Linked DNA regions of Homo sapiens: regions 1 and 3 are each linked to region 2. The links are contacts of gene promoters, found by promoter capture Hi-C in blood cells and fetal thymus (Javierre and others, 2016). All regions are on one chromosome and are shown on one strand. The core of a region is centred on a gene start or on the middle of the fragment in contact, and the rest is flanking DNA. Distances in the headings are between cores, read along the strand shown.

What was found. The method cuts DNA at HindIII sites, captures the fragments that hold promoters and counts their contacts. A CHiCAGO score of 5 or more calls a contact.
Region 1: a contact is called between the fragment with the promoter of KRT6C here and the fragment with the promoter of KRT73 in region 2, in 5 of 17 cell types (endothelial precursors, neutrophils, monocytes and 2 more). The highest score is 9.2, in endothelial precursors.
Region 3: a contact is called between the fragment with the promoter of KRT82 here and the fragment with the promoter of KRT73 in region 2, in 4 of 17 cell types (endothelial precursors, M0 macrophages, monocytes and 1 more). The highest score is 8.5, in endothelial precursors.

The regions. Positions count from the first base shown.
Region 1 is chr12:52,472,196-52,475,231 of GRCh38, reverse strand. It overlaps KRT6C (keratin 6C), which reads left to right and starts at 1,427. Exons shown (of 9, transcript NM_173086.5): 1 at 1,427-2,034; 2 at 2,952-3,036. The coding sequence starts at 1,495. The HindIII fragment of the contact is 8,852 bases long and covers 55-3,036 here.
Region 2 is chr12:52,617,263-52,620,745 of GRCh38, reverse strand. KRT73 (keratin 73) reads left to right here and starts at 2,187. Exons shown (of 9, transcript NM_175068.3): 1 at 2,187-2,668. The coding sequence starts at 2,222. The HindIII fragment of the contact is 4,368 bases long and covers 1-3,483 here.
Region 3 is chr12:52,404,345-52,407,736 of GRCh38, reverse strand. KRT82 (keratin 82) reads left to right here and starts at 1,402. Exons shown (of 9, transcript NM_033033.4): 1 at 1,402-1,870. The coding sequence starts at 1,460. The HindIII fragment of the contact is 6,676 bases long and covers 1-2,964 here.

The sequences.
Region 1 (3,036 bases), core at 178-2,677, 140 kb after region 2:
ATTCTACTACATCCACATCTGGAAAGTCTAAGTATATGAGAGTCTTATTAAGCTTCAAGTTTTAATGATCAGTTTGCAGGAAATATAGAGGACACAGTAGCATCTTAAATGAAACACTGTGAGTAAGCAATGAGGAAATCCCAAAGACTGAAACACTACTCAGGACAATTAACCTGGTCTTATCAACAAAAGAATTGTAAACAATAAGGAAATAAATGAAAAAGGACATTGGAGAATTGAATAGACACATTGATGTTAATAAATACACAAATTGGCTGGGAGCAGTGGCTCATGCCTGTAATCCCAGCACTTTTGGAGGCTGAGCCAGGTGGATCACCTGAGGTCAGGAGTTCGAGACCAGCCTGGCCAACATGGCGAAACACCATCTCTACTAAAAATACAAAAAATTAGCCGTGCTTGATGGTGGCCACCTGTAATCTCAAACTACTCAGGAGGCTGAGGTGAGAGAATCTCTTGAACCTGGGAGGCGGAGGTTGCAGTGAACCTAGATCGCACCACTGGACTCCAGCCTGGGTGACAGAGAGAGACTCTATCTCAAAAAAAAAAGAAAAAAAATTACCCTTCCCCACTGTCCCCTCTACACCCCCTCTCTATGCTCTTTTCTTCCTAGTAAAGCATTACTTTCTTTCTAGCTCAGTGATGCCACTGGATGTGATGTCTTCTATCTCCTTTTGTGTTGTCATCTTTATTAGAGTCAACTCCTTGAGGGCGAAGACTTAATAAATACATACATTTTTAAAATACAAAATAATATTTCAGTTATATTTCTAAAAGGTCTATCATTTAAAGATTAATATTGAATTAATATTGAATTAAATCCCAAATATTTTTGGGATTTAAAAAAATTTAACATTGATAAGGGAACCGGGTGGAAATATACAAGAAATAAGACTGGCCATAAGGTAATCATCATGGAAACAGGTAATAGGTATATACAGGCCCATTGTGTTCTGCTCCTCTACATGTTTGAAATTGCACACAGAAGGAAAAATAATTACAGGAAAAATGTTAATATTTCTGTTAAGGCATTTGCAATACAGTGCTTGTGATCTCCAACATCTCTGCTGGAAGAAAGTCAGGCTGGAAAGAGGAAAGCACTCACAGCATGTTGATAAACAGCCTAGCATGCAGAACCTTTGCTGAAGACAGTGACTAACTTCAACTTCATGAACTGAGAATGCTCTTACTGTGCTGAAATCTCGAGTCAAAGCTGGAGGCAGGAACATTTTCCCTGACTAAAGGAAGTGAAAAATGCCATCTCAGCATTTCATAACTTTTCTGATCCAGGTGTGATCTCACTATTTGTAAAGCCCAGCCCTTCCCAACCTGCAAGCTCACCTTCCAGGACTGGGCCCAGCCCATGCTCTCTCATAATATATAAGCTACTGCTGGAGCCCGATTCCTTGTCCTGCTTCTCCTGCCTCTCGCCTCCAGCCTCCAACGCTCGCCACAGCCCTCTCATCTCCTGGAACCATGGCCAGCACATCCACCACCATCAGGAGCCACAGCAGCAGCCGCCGGGGTTTCAGTGCCAACTCAGCCAGGCTCCCTGGGGTCAGCCGCTCTGGCTTCAGCAGCATCTCCGTGTCCCGCTCCAGGGGCAGTGGTGGCCTGGGTGGTGCATGTGGAGGAGCTGGCTTTGGCAGCCGCAGTCTGTATGGCCTGGGGGGCTCCAAGAGGATCTCCATTGGAGGGGGCAGCTGTGCCATCAGTGGCGGCTATGGCAGCAGAGCCGGAGGCAGCTATGGCTTTGGTGGCGCCGGGAGTGGATTTGGTTTCGGTGGTGGAGCCGGCATTGGCTTTGGTCTGGGTGGTGGAGCCGGCCTTGCTGGTGGCTTTGGGGGCCCTGGCTTCCCTGTGTGCCCCCCTGGAGGCATCCAAGAGGTCACCGTCAACCAGAGTCTCCTGACTCCCCTCAACCTGCAAATTGACCCCGCCATCCAGCGGGTGCGGGCCGAGGAGCGTGAGCAGATCAAGACCCTCAACAACAAGTTTGCCTCCTTCATCGACAAGGTGAGCCAGTGCCATGCCCTCCATCGGGCACTTCAGGGTCCCCAGACCAGAAGAGCAACACCTTCCTGCTAGGGAGACCTAGGAGGGAGGGAGAAGGGGATTCAGCCCAGCTCTGCAGAGAGTGCAGGTGGCTCTCGGTGCACAGGAGGCAGCACAGATGGGCATCACTCCCCCATGGGATCTCTGGAGTGGCCCTCACTCCTGCCTAGGGAGAGCCGTAACTTTTCATAACCCTGAAGCACAGATGAGGCCATCAGAGAGTGGAGTAGGTTAATTCTCCCCTCTGAAGTGTTTAAGAGATTACAAAGCAAATGCCAGGAGTATATGGGCTGGTAAATTACACTCTGGGGTCTGGGTAAGAGGAAAAAGATTTAGAAAGAAAAGGAAAAGATAATCTGGCTGGATTAAGAAAAAAAGGGACATAGAAACAACTGTAAAACATGGATAAATGCTAATTAATTTTAAAAACAGAGAATGACCATAACATCAGAATATTTGAGAGGAGACACTAAATGGGAAAGTAGACTGAAATGTAATCATGAGTCAACATATAATATCTCTCCTAACTAAGATCCTATCAGTAAAAAAACTGTGTACAATATATCAGGTAATTAGTATTTTTAAACTAGATTTGTGATTGTGCCTGGAAAAAGAAGAGAAGAAATGTTGAAACTCACTGATGATCAATAGCTTACAGCGTGAGAACACCTCAATGGTCCATGGGACAATTTCTCTAGTGAGACTGGTGGGGTGCAAAGGAGAAGGGGTTGGGGGAGCAGAGCTCAGCCTGAGCCTCTCCACATGCACTGTAGTAGCCCAGCACCATGGGGACCTCCAAGACCTGCCAGGAAACTGGATACCAGACACTTTTTCTTCCTTCCTTTGCCTGGAAAATGACCATCTTGCTTCCCTTCCAGGTGCGGTTCCTAGAGCAGCAGAACAAGGTTCTGGACACCAAGTGGACCCTGCTGCAGGAGCAGGGCACCAAGACTGTGAGGCAGA
Region 2 (3,483 bases), core at 938-3,437:
GCCTCTGTGGCAGGTTCACAAGATGAGAAGGCCAGGGAGGGGAGGGGAAGTGAAAACCATAAGGAGAGGGGCTGTTTGCTCGTAAGCACATCCACGCCATACTGCAGAGTTGGCATTCACAGCATAAATGCCATTGGGGGTTATCTCAGGGCCTGTGACATGCAGCAATTTGTAGTTTTGCTGAGATGCAGGCCTGAATCACCTCCACCCCAGTGCTGGTGTGCTGAAATGAGCCAATTAGGGAGTGATTCTGGCTGGAATACTAAGCATTCTCATCACAATGCAGTTTTGTTGGTCTTCTTTGTGCCTTACAAAGAAACTTACAAAGGAATAGAAACTTTGGGTCAGGTGCGGTGGCTCACGCCTGTAATCCCAGCACTTCGAGAGACTGAGGCGGGCAGATCACCTGAGGTTGGGAGACCGAGACCAGCCTGACCAATATGGAGAAACCCCATTTCTACTAGAAATACAAAATTAGCCGGGCGTGGTGTTGCATCCCAGCTACTCAGGAGGCTGAGGCAGGAGAATCCCTTGAACCCAGGAAGTGGAGGTTGCGATGAGCCGAGATCATGCTATTGCACTCCAGCCTGGGCAAGAAGAGTGAAACGCCATCTCAAAAAAAAAAAAAAAAAAAAAGAAAAAAAGGAATAGAACTTCATGTTAGCTAAAAAAGATTAAAGGACTTCCAAGTGGCATTGCCTTTAGTGAAATTGAAGACATCAAAGAAAATGATTATTCTTAACTAGAAAACAACCATATTGTATAAAACAGAGGGGAGGTTGAATTTGGCAATTGCTTAGTACAACAATTTTAGAGGCATATCATAACCTCTATACAGAAATAGAAAAGAAGGATGGGCCAACTGTTCATTCAAGTACTCCAGCTAGTGAAATACTTGTGTTTTTATGGAGGAAATTCTATACTATGGATATATTTGGGATTTGGGATTTGGGAAACTCTTGGGTCACATACTTTGGCAATGTCAAGGATCCATGAAATTCAAATGTCTTCCCCTACCTCCCCATCTCCAAAATTGTGAGCTAGGTTTGGTCTTCATAATTCGGGACCCAAGAGCCTAGCACAGTACCTGGGAGAGAGTCAGCCCTCAAGAGAAGTCTGTTAAACGAATGGATAAATGAATGAACAAGTAGATGGCTGGCTGGCTGGTTGGACGGATAGATGGACGAATGAATAAGGCGGGCATAGCTCTGAATGTGGAGTCAGAAGACCAGCCAAGGGAGTCCTCAAGGCTGGGGCCTGTGCTTTTTGGGGGCATTTTCATTCTCTGGGATTCACACAAAGAAAGGACTCACTAAATGTTTGCTAAAGGAATGACATCCTCAATTATCTGAACCTTGGTTTCCCCATTTGTGTAATGTGGATCATCACCATTCCCCTCCATGCAGACTAAGTGGATTAAATGAGCTTCTTGTGTGAGGAGCTCTGTTACACTGTAAAGTGCTGCACCAGTGTCAGCCATCGTGAATGGTGCAATGACCATAATTTCAAGGTCAAGAGTCAGGGTAGTGGGATGGTAAAGGGAAAAAGAAGTCAGTGTGTGCAAAGGAAGGTGAGCAGGGCAGCCCGGCTGGCACAGAGGAGCAGGAGAGCTGCCTGGGAGGGCACAGCAGGGGGCTGGCAGCCAGAGGCTGGTCCTGGATTCCCAGTGTGCTCCTCTCCTATGGCCCTGGCCAGCCATCAAACCTGTCTCCAGGAACTCTGGGAAGCCAGGCAGCAGCAGCCTCTTCTTAACCACATAAAAGCAGCTCAGCCAGGGTCCCTGAAGCAGCCCATCTGATGCTGGCATGGTTGTGAGATTTCTAACAGATGACACTGTCAATTAAAGGTCTCCCCTCTGTACCCCTACAATCCCAGGCCCCACCACTCCCTGGGGAACAGCAATTGAGACTGCGACAAACCTCCCACCTAAGATCTTTCTATGGATAATGTGCCCATGCTAATTACACATGTTCATTAGATAAAACTCAAATTACATGAGCAAGACTTGCAAGACTAGCACTTTGGGAGTTTTCAAGTCATTTACCTGGTGTCTGATTTTGCTGGGAGAAAATGATTTCTTGCTTCCAGGCAAACTGAACCCACAAATTAGGCCCATGGCTCCCTCTTGAGTCCTATAAAGTGGGAGCCCAGGATCACAGGCTGGTGAACTGCATCTCAGCTAAGGGTCAGCATCTTATCCCCACTTTCTGGCCTCCCCACCATGAGCCGCCAATTCACCTACAAGTCGGGAGCTGCTGCCAAGGGGGGCTTCAGCGGCTGCTCCGCTGTGCTCTCAGGGGGCAGCTCATCCTCCTACCGAGCAGGGGGCAAAGGGCTCAGTGGAGGCTTCAGCAGTCGGAGCCTTTACAGCCTGGGGGGTGCCCGGAGCATCTCTTTCAATGTGGCCAGTGGCAGTGGGTGGGCAGGAGGCTATGGATTTGGCCGGGGCCGGGCCAGTGGCTTTGCTGGCAGCATGTTTGGCAGTGTGGCCTTGGGGTCCGTGTGTCCGTCGTTGTGCCCGCCCGGGGGTATCCATCAGGTCACCATCAACAAGAGCCTCCTGGCACCCCTGAACGTGGAGCTGGACCCTGAAATCCAGAAAGTGCGTGCCCAGGAGCGGGAGCAGATCAAGGTGCTGAACAACAAGTTCGCCTCCTTCATTGACAAGGTGGGTCTTTCTGGAGAAAGCTGATCTTGGGCTCCCCTTTTAAGGACTCAGGAGGGAGCCACTGCCCTAATTTGTGGTTCAATTTGCCTGAGAGCAAGAAATCATTTTCTCCCAGCAAAATCAGACACCAGGTAAACAACTTGAAAGCTCCCCAGGTGCTGGGCCCATAAGGCTTGCTCATGCCGTAGAGCCCCTTCCTTCCCCCGCCTTCATTGTCCTTGGGGTGCTCCCTGTCTGAAGCAGACGAAGGCAGGACACCTCCCCAGGATGCAGACATAGCCCAGGGAGGAACTGGACAAAGCCTGGACATCAGAGGCAAGGGACCAGGGTTGGAGGGGTGAGAGGAGCCAGCAGCCTAGCCCAGGAAGGTGTCCAGGAAGCAATGAGAGCGGTCTCTGAGTTGAGAAGTAGCAGAGTGACAGCCTGTGAGACTTAGAAGCTAGGCGAAGGAGATGCCCTTGACAGCCTGGGGCATCTAGACTGCCATGCGACCCAGCTGTTCCTCCTGTGTCCCCTGAAAGCTCAGACTCAGTCCGTAACACACACAGCCTATGAGGCAAGGCAGCTGGAGGTCACGGTGCCCTAGAGCAGTGGTTCTCAAAGGTGGCCCTGGAACCAGCAGCAGCAACGTCACCTGGACGCTTGTTAGAATGCACACTCTCAGGCTCCACCCCAGAGCAACTGAATCAGAGACTCTGCAGCAGGGCCCAGCACCCTGCATTTTAACAAGCTCTCCAGGTGATGCTGATGTACACTCAGGTTTGAGAATCACTGAGGAACAAAGTGGTAGGAAGGTATTGGGAAGCAGAGACTTC
Region 3 (3,392 bases), core at 153-2,652, 210 kb after region 2:
CCTAATCCACAGGTTGGAAGGCTGACGGACAGGGACAACAGAACATTTATGGGCAGCAGATTCCCAATTCCTCACCTGGGCTTCCCTGCTGTGGAGCAGCATGGCAGGGTGAAGTCAAAAGGAACAGGATGGACTCCCAGCTGATCAGCCACAAGCTGTGTGACTTGGGGATGTTGCTCTTAACTGCTGTGCTTCCCATTTTCCTGTCTGTGGCATAGTAACTATCTCATTGTGTGGTCAGAGAATTAAATGAGACCATGGATGTAAAGAGTACGGAGTGGTCCCAACACACAATAAATGCCCAATAAATGTTTATTATTGTTATTATTATTATTATTGGTTTGATTTTGACCTGGTGATAAGTCTCAGTGTGGAAGGGAAAGGCCATTCGGCCATGGCAAAAGTTTCACTGATGAAATTGATGGAAAAGAGGAGGAAAGAGAGTGAGGCGGGGGCTTCAGACATCTCCAAAGAGCTGTGTCTGCGACCTGAGCTGGAAAGAAAACCTGAATCCCACCTCCACCTGAAAATTCCCAAGGGCAACAACTCTCCCCAGAGACATCCTCAGGCCAAAGCTGGCTCTGTTGACCTCAGGGACACTCAGGCTGGGTTGGGCAAAAGGGGAAAGGAACAGCCACATGGAAGCCGAGACCTGATGCTGAAATCATGCCTTCTGGGGGCCCCAGAAGTGTTGAGGAGAGCGTCCCTTCCTCTGCCCTTCTCAAGCACCAGGCCTCTCCTCTTGAGTTCCCTGCAGCCTTTGTGGACTGATGGGCCCTGTAGAAAAGTGTCTATGCCTGGAGTCTGTCTACCTTCAAGACCCTCATGGGACAGTGGGTCACTGAGCCAGAGCTCAGGAGGGTTAAGGTCCGGCCTGTTGTAGGGAGGATTCTCCCACCCCAAAAGCCTTCCTCCTGGGAACTTCCTGACTCACCTAGGAGCCCACAGAGGGCACTTGGGTTGAGGATCTGCAAAAAAGCCTAGGAGCAGCCTTGGGGAAAGAGCCAGAGCATCTTTAAGCATATGGGACTTGCCCTCTAATCCCAGAGAAGCCAGGGTGTATAATTCATGGCACGCCTCCCCTCCTATGAAATGACGTAGTCCCAACTCTCCCTTTCCTTGAGGCTGAGCCACTGGATACATGGAACATATCTGTCTGGTTGGCCCCTTTCATCACCCCCACAATCAAGGAAGGAGGACAAATAGGATTTTTATAGGGCCCACCAGCACTGACCATTGGCCCCTTCTCTTTGCTCTTCGCTACCCTAATTATCCACCTTGCTACTTAGCTCTGCCAATATCCCAAGCTCATAAACCTAGTTTAATGGTGATTTGGGGTTTGACACATCTCAGTCCTCCATCCCCCTACCAGATAAAAGGGGGGAAGCTGAGCCTGACTTGATCATCCTGCCCCGGTTCTTTCCTCCAGGGCCGCATTTCTCTGCCTCTCTCTCCTGCCATGTCGTACCACTCTTTCCAGCCAGGCTCCAGGTGTGGCAGTCAGAGTTTCAGCTCATACTCGGCTGTCATGCCCCGGATGGTCACCCACTATGCAGTGAGCAAGGGGCCATGCCGGCCCGGGGGTGGTAGGGGCCTCCGAGCTCTGGGCTGCCTTGGCTCACGGAGCCTGTGCAACGTGGGCTTTGGGAGGCCCCGGGTAGCCTCCAGGTGTGGAGGTACCCTGCCTGGCTTCGGGTACCGACTGGGAGCCACCTGTGGGCCTTCTGCCTGCATCACCCCTGTCACCATCAATGAGAGCCTGCTGGTCCCACTGGCACTGGAGATAGACCCGACTGTGCAGAGGGTAAAGAGGGATGAGAAGGAGCAGATCAAGTGCCTCAACAACCGTTTCGCATCTTTCATCAACAAGGTAAGGGGGCAGTGGCCCAGGGCCGTGAGAGGACCCACTGCAGATCTGGGGTCTGGTCTTGTTCTGGTCCAAGGGAACCAGGAGGAGACTGACATTGAGGAGGCCTCAGTTTATCCAGTGGCCTCCCTCACATTCCACGACCACCAGCCTTTGAAAGCCAGTTAGATCAGATTCTGCACTAAACATTTCTGCTTCCTTGTCTTTCTTAAAATATATCATCTTTCTCTGAATATTATCTGACAAAATCACCAATCACCAAGGTTGCCTGAGGTCAGACTATAAGAGGAACTTCCAAAGCAATACTGAAAGGAATGACCAGAGAGGCAGAGAAATGCCCTTCCTGATGAGGCTTTAACAGTAGAACCGCCTTCTGTGTGCCTGAGCTGTGTCACAACTCTTGAGCCTGAAGGTGAGGATGGACACTGTGACCTCAGAGTTTCCAATCATTTTAGGCCTGGGATGAGAGGAAAGTGGACAGTCAGAGCTAGAGGCACAGGGTGACGGTCACAAAAGTCTTACATCTGTCATCTCCAGAGCCACTGAAAGGCTGCTAGGAAGGCATGCCTTCAGAAGGTGCTGAACTGAATCTGCACCCACTGCAGGAACAGTGCAGATTCCCACATCTACAGCACAGCACCCACTGCAGGAACAGTGCAGATTCCCACATCTACAGTATAGCACCCACTGCAGGAAGAGCGCAGATTCCCACATCTACAGTACAGCACCCACTGCAGGAAAAGATGTGGCATGCCTTCTGAAGGTGCTGAAGGACTCAACAGCCTCTGGGTCCATCCCACGCCCCAGGGAGGCTCTTGGGGTGAGGATTCATTCCACAGTTTGAGCTGGTGTTTCTGGTGACCGTAAGGTTTAGGGGCAAGAGTCCTGGGCCAGAGGTCAGGAGCCCTGGCCACTGGCATTGACTCTACTCCTACACCCGGAATCCCCGGGCAAGCCATTCACCTCTTGGCCTTTGGACGGTGCTGCCCAGTGAGGAAGGGGAGGAATGACGGTGGGAGATTAGAGGAGGTAATATATGCCAAAGTGCTTCACAGAGGAACTTGTTTAGTCAAACTTACAGTTTTATTTCTAAAGCTTATTAAGTTCTGGCTATAAACTTATTCCAAAAACATGGGCCCGAATTAGCAACAACATCACACCACCTTCTGTTAGGCTGGGAGCCTCCTGTTGATGCAGCCACTGACCAGAAGTAGGGCAATGATACTTCTGTAGTTTTCTTGACAGACAATGCACGATGTGGAAAATTCCAGAGCAAGGGCTGGAGACCACGTTCCCTTAGTCAATGTCCAGCCGGGTGGCCATGGTGAACTTACTCAACTCCTAATCTCAGTTTCCACTTTACGAAAAGGGAGGAGGAGGCCAGCAGCTGTCCACATTACTAGGACCTGGACTTTTTTCAGATACAGCCATGTAGGATGCAGCACAGTAGGTGAAAAGAGCTTAGAGTCCCTTGATCCGTCTTTTCCCCTGAGTGTCCCTAGGCTGTCATAAAGGAAAGCCTCGA